Linked DNA regions of Homo sapiens: region 2 is linked to region 1. Evidence: promoter capture Hi-C in 16 types of primary human blood cells and fetal thymus (Javierre and others, 2016). All regions are on one chromosome and are shown on one strand. Each heading gives the region's core, a stretch centred on a gene start or on the middle of the fragment in contact. The rest is flanking DNA. Distances are from core to core; before and after follow the strand shown. Region 1 holds the start of CLEC4F (C-type lectin domain family 4 member F). Region 2 has its middle 13 kb from the start of FAM136A.

Region 1 (4,707 bases), core at 799-3,298:
GAACAGGAATCTGCTGGTAACCCCAGCACTGGCTTTTAGAGGGGTTCCTTGACCAGCCATGGGAATATTGGTTCTGTTCAGCTGGTAACCCCTGTGGCAGGGACAGGGACATCACGTTTGCACAGCTCCATGGCACTGTCCACTGGGATGCCTCATGCCTTCTCTTCTAATGCTAGGCCCACCCAGCAGCAGGAACCCCTGAAGCAGTATCTGTTCCTCCTGGAAGGGATAGGGCTCATTGAAAGCCACACATTGGCCCCAGCCTGCTCCATCAGATTCTTTGGAGTTAGTCTTGAGAACCTGGTCACCTCAGGAGGCATGGATCCAATCAGCTAAAGTTGGGGCCTGCTTGGTATTTTCTGACACCACTTCTGACACCAAATGTGTGCTTTTTCCTGACACCAGCCGATTCTCTGACACCCGCTGGGCATCCAACAATTCAAACAGATTCTAACACTAACTTCCAGAGTTAGCACAGATCTCACAGGGTAAGGCCTCAGTCCCACAAGACTGCCCCCCTTCAGATGCTAGCTACAAGTGAGGTAGTGACCCCACTTCTGCCTGGTCAACTACAAATTTGGGGGTTCTGGCTAGGCAAGGTGGCTCATGCCTGTAGTCCCAGCACTTTGGGAGGCTGAGGTGGGAGGATCACTTGAAGCCAGGAGTTCCAGACCAGCCTGGGGTATAAAAAGAGATCCCATCTCTACAAAAAAATAAAAATAAAAAATTAGCCAGGTATGTTGGCACACACCTGTAGTCCCAGTTATGCTGGGGTTATGCTGGATGTGACAGAGGCTGGGATGTTGGGGCTGAGAACTGAGGATCACTTGTGTCCAGGAGTTCAAGGCTGCATTGACTTATGATCGTACCACTGCACTCCAGCCTGAGTGACAGAGGGAGACCCTGTCTCAAACAAAAAATTAGGGGGTTTCTGCAACAACCTCTCAGTTTTCATAATTCACTAGAACAATTCACAGAACTCAGAAAAACACTGTACTTCCTATTCTTTTATTGTAAAGGACAAAAACAGCCTGATGAAGAGGTACACAGGGCAAGGCCCAGTGGGGTCCCAAGTGCAGGAGACTCTGTCTCTGTGGAGTCAGGGCATGACACCCTCCTGGCATGTGGATCACCAATCCCTAAGCTCCTTGAATCTCATTTTTTAAGAGTCGTTATAGCCCAGACCCCAGGCCATCTCCCATACCTGGAGGTCTGGGAGTAGGGAATGGGAGTGGGTGGCTGAAAGTCCCAGTCTTCCAAAGTCTAATCCCATGTTTGGTCTTTCTGGGACCAGCCTCCAGCCTGAAATTATCTAAGGGTCCACCCTGTGTCACCTCATTAGCATAAACCCAAGTGTAGTCCTAAGGGGCTTATTATGAATAACAAAAAACACTCCTGTCACCCAGGAAACTCTAAGCGTTTTAGGAGTTCTGTGTCAGGAACTGAGATGAAGACCAGATATATTTTTTACAGAGTTGTCCCTTGGTATCTGCAGGGGATTTGTTTCAGGACTCCCATGGGTACCAAAGTCCACAGATGCTCAAGTCCCTTGTACAAAATCATGTAGTATTTTTATATAACCTCCGCACATCCTCCTGTATACTATAATTCAGTTGTGAGTCCCCAAGTGGCTGGTCACCCCGCTTCCTCCTTTGACCTGCAAATATCGGCCGCACTGACCTGGCCCCTCTTTTACCTGACTCCTTTTACTTAAGAGGTTCTGAGGCTAGAATTAAAGGTCAGCCATAGTCATAAGGATGTTTTCTGTGCAAAGCTGAGACCCCCTTCCTAGGTGCCAGTCCCAGCCCCCAGAGAAGAAGAGGTGTGTTTGGGGTTATGCTGGATGCGGCAGAGGCTGGGATGATGGGGCTGAGAACTGACGGGAAGGTGCTAATGGGAAGAGGAAGAAAATAGGGCAGATGGGTATCTGGGAGCCTCTAGGGGAGGGGCCCACTGGGGCGGGTTTCTGCAGAGTCAGGCAGGGAGGGAGGAAGAGCTGGGAGGGTGGTCAGGAGCATATAAGTGTGGGTGTCTCAGCTTTGCTTCCACTGCCATTGGTCCACGGGACGGCCCTTCCAGGAGCCAGTGGCTGGGAGCAGTGCTGGAGGATCAAGGAAGCAGAGATGGACGGTGAGGCAGTCCGCTTCTGCACAGATAACCAGTGTGTCTCCCTGCACCCCCAAGGTGAGAAAACTGGGGCCCCAGCTCTTGCCCAGTGAGGGAGTAGCCTGCCTGTCCTTTGGCCCTCTGCCATAAGGCAGCTTATTGCTGTCTTATTGCTCTCCCCAGACCCTTGTCCTTGGGGATGCAGACCTGGCAAGAGAAAGGGGATGAACTTTGAATTCAGATGGTCCTGGCTTGGAATCCCGGCTCTGCACACTGAGCTGGTCCTGTGAGGCCTCCCTCCCTTCCTTTCTTCTTTCATTCAAACTACACTTTTGTTGCTCTGTGCTCTGTGCCAGGTTCTGTGCCCTGTGCACCACCAAAGCCTCCTTGAGATTTGGAGATCGGTGGTCTCGGTCTCAGAGCTCCTCAGCTCTGTGTTGCTACCATATCCACATCTAGCTCTGGTGAACAGCCCAAAGTGTTTTGTCTTCCTTCTCCATAACCACCTGCATGATAAGCATGGCAGGAGTTATCATCCCCATTAGACAACCCAGGAAACAGAATCAGAGAGGCTGTGTCTCAGCCTGCACAGCACCCTCTTACCTTGCACAGCACCCTCTCACCTTGGACACTGCCTTCTCCCCTGCAGAGGTGGACTCTGTGGCAATGGCTCCTGCAGCCCCCAAGATACCGAGGCTCGTTCAGGCTACCCCGGCATTTATGGCTGTGACCTTGGTCTTCTCTCTTGTGACTCTCTTTGTAGTGGGTAAGCCCCCAGGTGACCCAAATCTCACTAACTTTCTCTCCTTTCAGCACAAAGTCCCCAGGGGCCCCAGATGCACACTCTCTGGGCCTCTCTGCTCCCAGAAAGATCATTCCACCTCCAGCTCCAGGCCCAAGCCACAGCTTCCCTGGGAACAGATAAAGGCCACTGTCCAAGGGGGAGCCTCCCAAGAACTGAGGTTCATGAGGGAAACCCTGGGAGGGTCTTTGCTGCTATCTCCCCGGTTCTGGAACTCTACCTCTGTGTGGGACAGCGTATCCTCCCAGGCTCAGGGCTGGGGATTTGCTGACCTGGAAAAATGGAATGTCTCAGTTCAACAGCAGACAAGACCTGTTCCGAAGCCTGTGCAAGCCGTAATTCTGGGAGACAACATTACTGGGCATTTACCTTTTGAACCCAACAGTGAGTAGCCACAGTGGGGGTGGGGTGCAGAGGGAACTGGGGCCTTCAGATGCTCAGACCCTAGGATGAGCTTCTCTCCTGGTACCCTCTGACCACTGAATGGGCTCCACCATCCTCACAGAAAGAGATAATTTTTTAAAAACACAGTTTTATTGAGGTCTAATGGTGTATATATTTAAAGCATACAATCTGTTAAGTTTTGACATATGTGTGTGCCCCTGAAACCATCACCACAATCATCATCACATAGTCATCCTCCTCACCCCAAAGTTTCCTTGTGGCTCTTTGTAATTCCTTCCTCTCCCTTCCTCTCCTCATCCCTGGGCAGCCACAGATCTACTTGCTGTAACTATAGATTAGTTTGCTTTTTCTAGAGTTTTATAGATAAGAGATCATAGAGTATGTACTCTTTGTTCTTTGCTAGTCATGTGATTTGCAAATATTTTTCTCTCAGTCTGTGACTTGTCTTGTCATTCTCCTAACAAGATTTTAATTTTGATAGTCTAATTTATCATTTTATTTCTGTTATGGATTATTCTCATGATCTCGTATGTGAGAAATCTGCCTAATCCAAGGCTACAAAGATGTTCTCCTTTGTTTCTGGAAATTGTACAGTTTTTAGTTTTAGTTTTTGTTTTTGTTTTTTGACGGAGTCTCGCTCTGTCACCCAGGCTGGAGTGCAGTGGCGTGATCTCGGCTCACTGCAAGCTCTGCCTCCCAGGTTCATGCCATTCTCCTGCCTCAGCCTCTGGAGTAGCTAGGACTACAGGCGCCCGCCACCACGCCTGGCTAATTTTTTGTATTTTTAGTAGAGACGGAGTTTCACCGTGTTAGCCAGGATGGTCTCGATCCCCTGACCTCGTGATCTGCCCACCTCAGCCTCCCAAAGTGCTGGGATTACAGGCGTGAGCCACCATGCCCAGCCCGGTTTTTAGTTTTACATTTAGGTCTCTGCCTCATTTGAGTTAATTATTGTATAATGGTGTGAAATTGATTGTTCCAGCACCATTTGTTGAAAAAGTTATCTTTCTCCGTGAATTGCCTTTGCACCTTTGTTGAAATTCGATTGTCCATATGTGTGGGGGTCTACTTCCGTATTCTCCATTCTGTCGCATTGATTTGTTTGTCTATCTTTACAAAGCAGAATCTTTGACTGAACTCCCAGTACCTTGAAAGGTCCCCTCTCTTACCTTAGCACAGTAACTGAGGTCTCACACATCTACATAGGCAGTGCATGAGAAATAGTACATGGATGCTCCAGAAAGGGTCCCTGCCATCTTGGGTTTTTCTCCCTATTCCTGAGGGGAGACTGGAATCAGAAGGGGATCATGGATGTGTGAGATTAGGTCCTAGTTCATGAGGTGAACAAAGGATGCTAGCAGGACCAGAGGTAGATGCATGTGAGGTTGGTGGGA
Region 2 (4,731 bases), core at 667-3,166, 500 kb after region 1:
TAAGACCCTGCCAAAAAAAAGAAGAAAAGTTGACGGCAACCTTTTCATTTCTCCAGGATTAAATGACCCACAGTGGTCCTGGGCCAGATGCTTGTCCTGTCAGAACTGAGATGTCTGACTTTATGTAAAGTGCCACTGATGTTCTAATATCACCAAGAGAACCTAGGTCCAGCCATTAGTATCACTCTTCTTGTTGAGCTTGGATATATTTTGAATATCTGTGTGGCATGGTGTTTACACGGGTAAAGTATTCAGTATTTACAGTAGATGAAATAAGTCTTTGGCAACTCTGGATCCCCTCTTAAAACTTCTGTCCTAATCCCTTGTCCTTTCAGGAGCCTAGTGTCCACATTCAGCCCTCTAACTGTCCACAACTTTGACAATATCTCCTCAAATCCCACCACCCCACCCAGTCTTGACAATGCCTCAGAATGGATCTCTCCTCTCTTCTTACTCTTCACAATTTGGAGCCAGGGATGTTGCCTGATTAAGAAGGGACTCTTGGCCTCTTTGGTAAGGAACCAGAGAGATGGTTTAATCCAGTCAAGCTCATTTTACAGATAAAGAAATTGAATCCCAGAGAAAGGAATACCTAAGACCAACCCAGATCCAAAGATTTCAACCAAAGTTCCCTGAATGGACTTTTACTGTAAGGAGAAGCAGAGCCCTTTGGGTTGAGTGTGTGTGACAGGCCTGAGGTCGCCTCCTGTGGTGGAACAGAGCCCAGCCCCACAAGAGACCTTCCTTAAGGGGCTCCTCAGCACTTCTGCTCCCAAGGCCTGGACCACAACAGGTTCCACAAATTATTATTATTATCACCATTGTTGTTTTGCTATAACAACCACAGTAATAAGAGGGGGAGAAAGGGAAATACAGGATTCCCAGGAACAATAATAATTATTTACCTCATACCTCAGAGACACTAACTGCCTGCCACCACACCCCTGAGAGTTAATAGTATTGTCACAATTTATAAAAGGGAGAAGGAAGGAAGAGAAAAGGGAGTGGCTCTATCACTGAGTTAGCTGAAGGACAAGTTGGCAGAAGTAGGCTAAGAACACAGAAGAGTTTGATGCTCAGCCCAAGATTGAATCTGTAAACCAATGTTTTCAACAGAAACTAGATCTGCAACCTACACAGTACTTCAGCTCAGGACTTTCCAAACTCTTTTGATCATTATCCACAGTAGGAAATATAATTTCACATTTACACCCATGCATATAGCACTTTAAGAGGCAAAAGTGGGCAGATTGCTTGAGCCCAGGAGTTCGAGACCAACCTGGGTAACAGAGCAAGACCTTGTCTCTAAAAAAAATACGAAACTTAGCTGGGCATGATGGCGCATGCCTGTGGTCCCACTTACTTGAGAGGCTGAGGTGGGAGGTTGCAGTAAGACATGATTATGCCACTGCACTCTAGCCTTGGCAACAGAGCAAGACCCTATCTCAAAAAAAAAAAAAAAGATATAATAGCTATGAACCAACCCACACATTCTCACATTCTCACCCTACCCTCACCACCCTGGAAAAATGGGACAGTTCAACTCAATAAGTATTTACCAGGTACATCTGACCAGCACTCCACCAGATGCTGTGAGAAATGCTCTGATTGACAATACAATTTTAGACTTGCAAGGTCAGCAGGAGCAGGGGAGAAGATGTGAGTTTTGGAGTCCATCAGATCTCATTTGAGTCCCTTTTCCACTGTGTCTTAGCAGTGTGACCTTAAACAATGTACTTGACCTCTAAAAGCACTTTCTCCTGACAATGTTGAATTTTACCTGAGCCCAGTGATTCTGAAGAACAGTGAAGGTTAAGAAATCCCTAACTCTTTGTGTTCTGGAAAACGCTTACTGCAAGGACTCATACTTCTCCATATGACTTAGAGAAAACTCACACATGCCTCCCTTGTTTACTTATGACCAGGCCAGACACAGATTCCAAATTCCCATTCTTTACCTTATAAATAATTACCTGAATTGCTTGCTCCCATTGATCAATAGGAACAAGATGTCGGTTAACCAAACTTTGGGTTGAGAGCTTTCCTCCTCTCTCCAGACCTCTGAGGTTTGGCCACCCTGAGCCTGAGCCACACAACACTCTTGAGAGTTTCCTCCCAGAAAATATGCTAGCCTCACAGTAAAACATTCTCTGATCTACTATCTCATTGGTCACATCATCCTCTTCTCCTGCTTCCCAACACCTGGTTCTTTTCTAGCTTTTTTACTCCTTTAAAAAAACTCTTGGCCAGGCACAGTGGCTCACATTTGTAATCCCAGTACTTTGGGAGGCTGAGGAGGGCAGATCACTTGAGGTCAGGAGGTCACCTGAGGTCTCAGCCAGCCTGGCCAACGTGGCAAAACCCCATCTCTACTAAAAATAAAAAATGTAGATGGGTGTGGTGGCACATGCCTGTAATCCCAGCTACTCGGGAGGCTGAGATATGAGAATCACTTGAACCCGGGAGGCAGAGGTTGCAGTGAGCAGAGATCACACTGCTGCACTCCAACCTGGGTGACAAAGTAAGACTCTGTCTCAAAAAAAAAAAAAAAAAAAAGAAAAAGAAAAAACTCTTCTTCTCTTCTTTGTCTAACTCTCAAGATCTTTGCAGATGTTAAGGTCACAAGGTGCTCCCTACTGACGTAGTCCCTTCCCCCACTGCATTAGTCCCCTCCACTATTACAATATTCTCTCTCCCCCATTGCAACAGTCCCCTACCCCAGTGCGATACTCCCCTCCTCCTACTCAATTGTACCCTCCCCCTAATGCAACAGTCCTTCTCCCTCTATTGCAATAGTCCCCTCCCCTATTGCAGCAATCTTCTTTTTTTAAAGATGGGATCCGGCTGTGTTGTCCAAGCTGAACTAGAATTCCTGAGCTCAAGTGATCCTCCTGCTTCCCAAATAGCCCTCCAGAGTAGCTGACACTGCAGTTGTACAGCACCATGTCCGGCTGCAACAATCCTTTTGAATTAAAGTGTCTTCTTACTAAGTCTGAATGTGGTTTTGACACTTGTCTGCCAAATAAGGATAACAGTAACATCTGCAAAGCTGTGGAGAGGGTTAGAAGTCCTATCTTTATGTGCCTGGTATATCTGGTGCACAATGGGTGCTCAGTAAACAGAAGCTACTGTTATTATCTTTGAAGGTAAAATCCCAGATGAGAAAAGTGAGGCCCCACTCAGCCCCCACTTGCACTCAGCTCCATGGCCTACCTTGCAACAAGGAGTGTTATCATGAAGTGGCTTCAAGAGAATGTGACCCAGAGGATGGGGAGGACAGAGGCCGGGGTATTCAAGCCATGTCATTTCAGAGGTGTATAGAAAACACACTGGGATGACAGTCAGAGATATCCATGTGTATTCTAATTTCTGACACCCACTGTGATGACATGAAACCCATGTCTTTCTAGGGCCCAGTTTCATGAGAAGGTTGATTTGGATCAAGAATTCTCAAACTCAGGCCTGGCACGGTGGCTTACGCCTATAATCTTTTTAACAGTGGAGGGTGTCCAGGTTCTTGGCATCTTGAACAAAGAATTGGACAAAGCACACAAACAAAACAAGGAAGGAATGAAGGGATTTATTGAAAATAAAAGTACACTCCACAGTGTAGGAGCAGACCTGAGCATAGGGACCCAAGGGTCCTGTTACAGAGTTTTCGTGAGTTTAAATACCCTCTACTTGGGGTACACCCGATGTAAATGAAGAGGATGAAGTAGTTACAAAGTCATTTACTTGGTGTATGCCCTATGTAGAGAATATTTCTTCTCATAGCTGAAGTCTGAATCAGCCTTATGTTCCCAGCCTCCAGACCCTATTTTCCTGCCTCAATCTCAGCATTTTGGGAGATCAAGGCAAGAGGATCTCTTGAGGCCAGGAGCCTAAGGCCAACATGGGCAGCATAGGAAGACCTTGTTTCTACTAAAAATAAATATTTTCTTTTTTTTTTTTTTTTTTTTTTTGAGGCAGAGTCTCACTCTGTCACCCAGGCTGGAGTGCAGTGGCACGATCTCAGCTCACTGCAACCTCCGCCGCCCGGGTTCAAGCGATTCTCCTGCCTCAGCCTCCCAAGTAGCTGGGATTATAGGTACCTGCCACTACGCCCAGCTAATTTTTTGTAATTTTAGTAGAGATGAGGTTTCACCATGTTGGCTAGGCTGGTCTCAAACTCCTAACCTCGTGATTCACTTGCCTCAGCCTCCCAAAGTGCTGGGATGACAGGCGTGAGCCACCGCACCCAGCCAAAATAAGTATTTTCTATTTTATTTATTTATTTTGAGATGGAGTCTCACTCTGTCACCCAGGCTGGAGTACAACGGCGCCATCATGGCTCACTGCAACCTCCACCTCCCAGGTTCAAGCAATTCTCCTGCCTCGGCCTCCCAAGTAGCTAGGATTACAGGCATGTGCCACCATGCCCGGTTAATTTTTTTTTTTTTCCCCAGAGATGGAGTCTTGCTCTGTCGCCCAGGCTGGAGTGCAGTGGGGAGATCTCGGCTCACTGAAACTTCTGCCTCTCAGGTTTTTTAAGCAATTATCTTGCCTCATCCACCAGAGTAGCTGGGATTACAAGCATGTGACACCACACCCAGCTAATTTTTGTATTTTTAGTAGAGATGGGGTTTTACCATGTTGTCCAGGCTGGTCTCGAACTCCTGACCTCCTGATCCGCCCGCCTTGGCCTCCCAAAGTGCTGGGATTACAGGCATGAGCCACTGCGCCCGGCCCTAA

What was found. The method cuts DNA at HindIII sites, captures the fragments that hold promoters and counts their contacts. A CHiCAGO score of 5 or more calls a contact.
Region 2: a fragment that was not itself captured here is called in contact with the fragment with the promoter of CLEC4F in region 1 in 4 of 17 cell types (non-activated CD4 T cells, naive CD4 T cells, M2 macrophages and 1 more); the score reaches 6.8 in non-activated CD4 T cells.

Annotation. Positions count from the first base shown.
Region 1 is chr2:70,817,940-70,822,646 of GRCh38, reverse strand. It overlaps CLEC4F (C-type lectin domain family 4 member F), which reads left to right and starts at 2,048. Exons shown (of 7, transcript NM_173535.3): 1 at 2,048-2,184; 2 at 2,756-2,872; 3 at 3,203-3,292. The coding sequence starts at 2,124. The HindIII fragment of the contact is 10,753 bases long and covers 1-4,707 here.
Region 2 is chr2:70,313,179-70,317,909 of GRCh38, reverse strand. No RefSeq gene overlaps it. Among named protein-coding and RNA genes, the nearest start is that of FAM136A, 13 kb to the right of the region's middle. The HindIII fragment of the contact is 6,397 bases long and covers 1-4,731 here.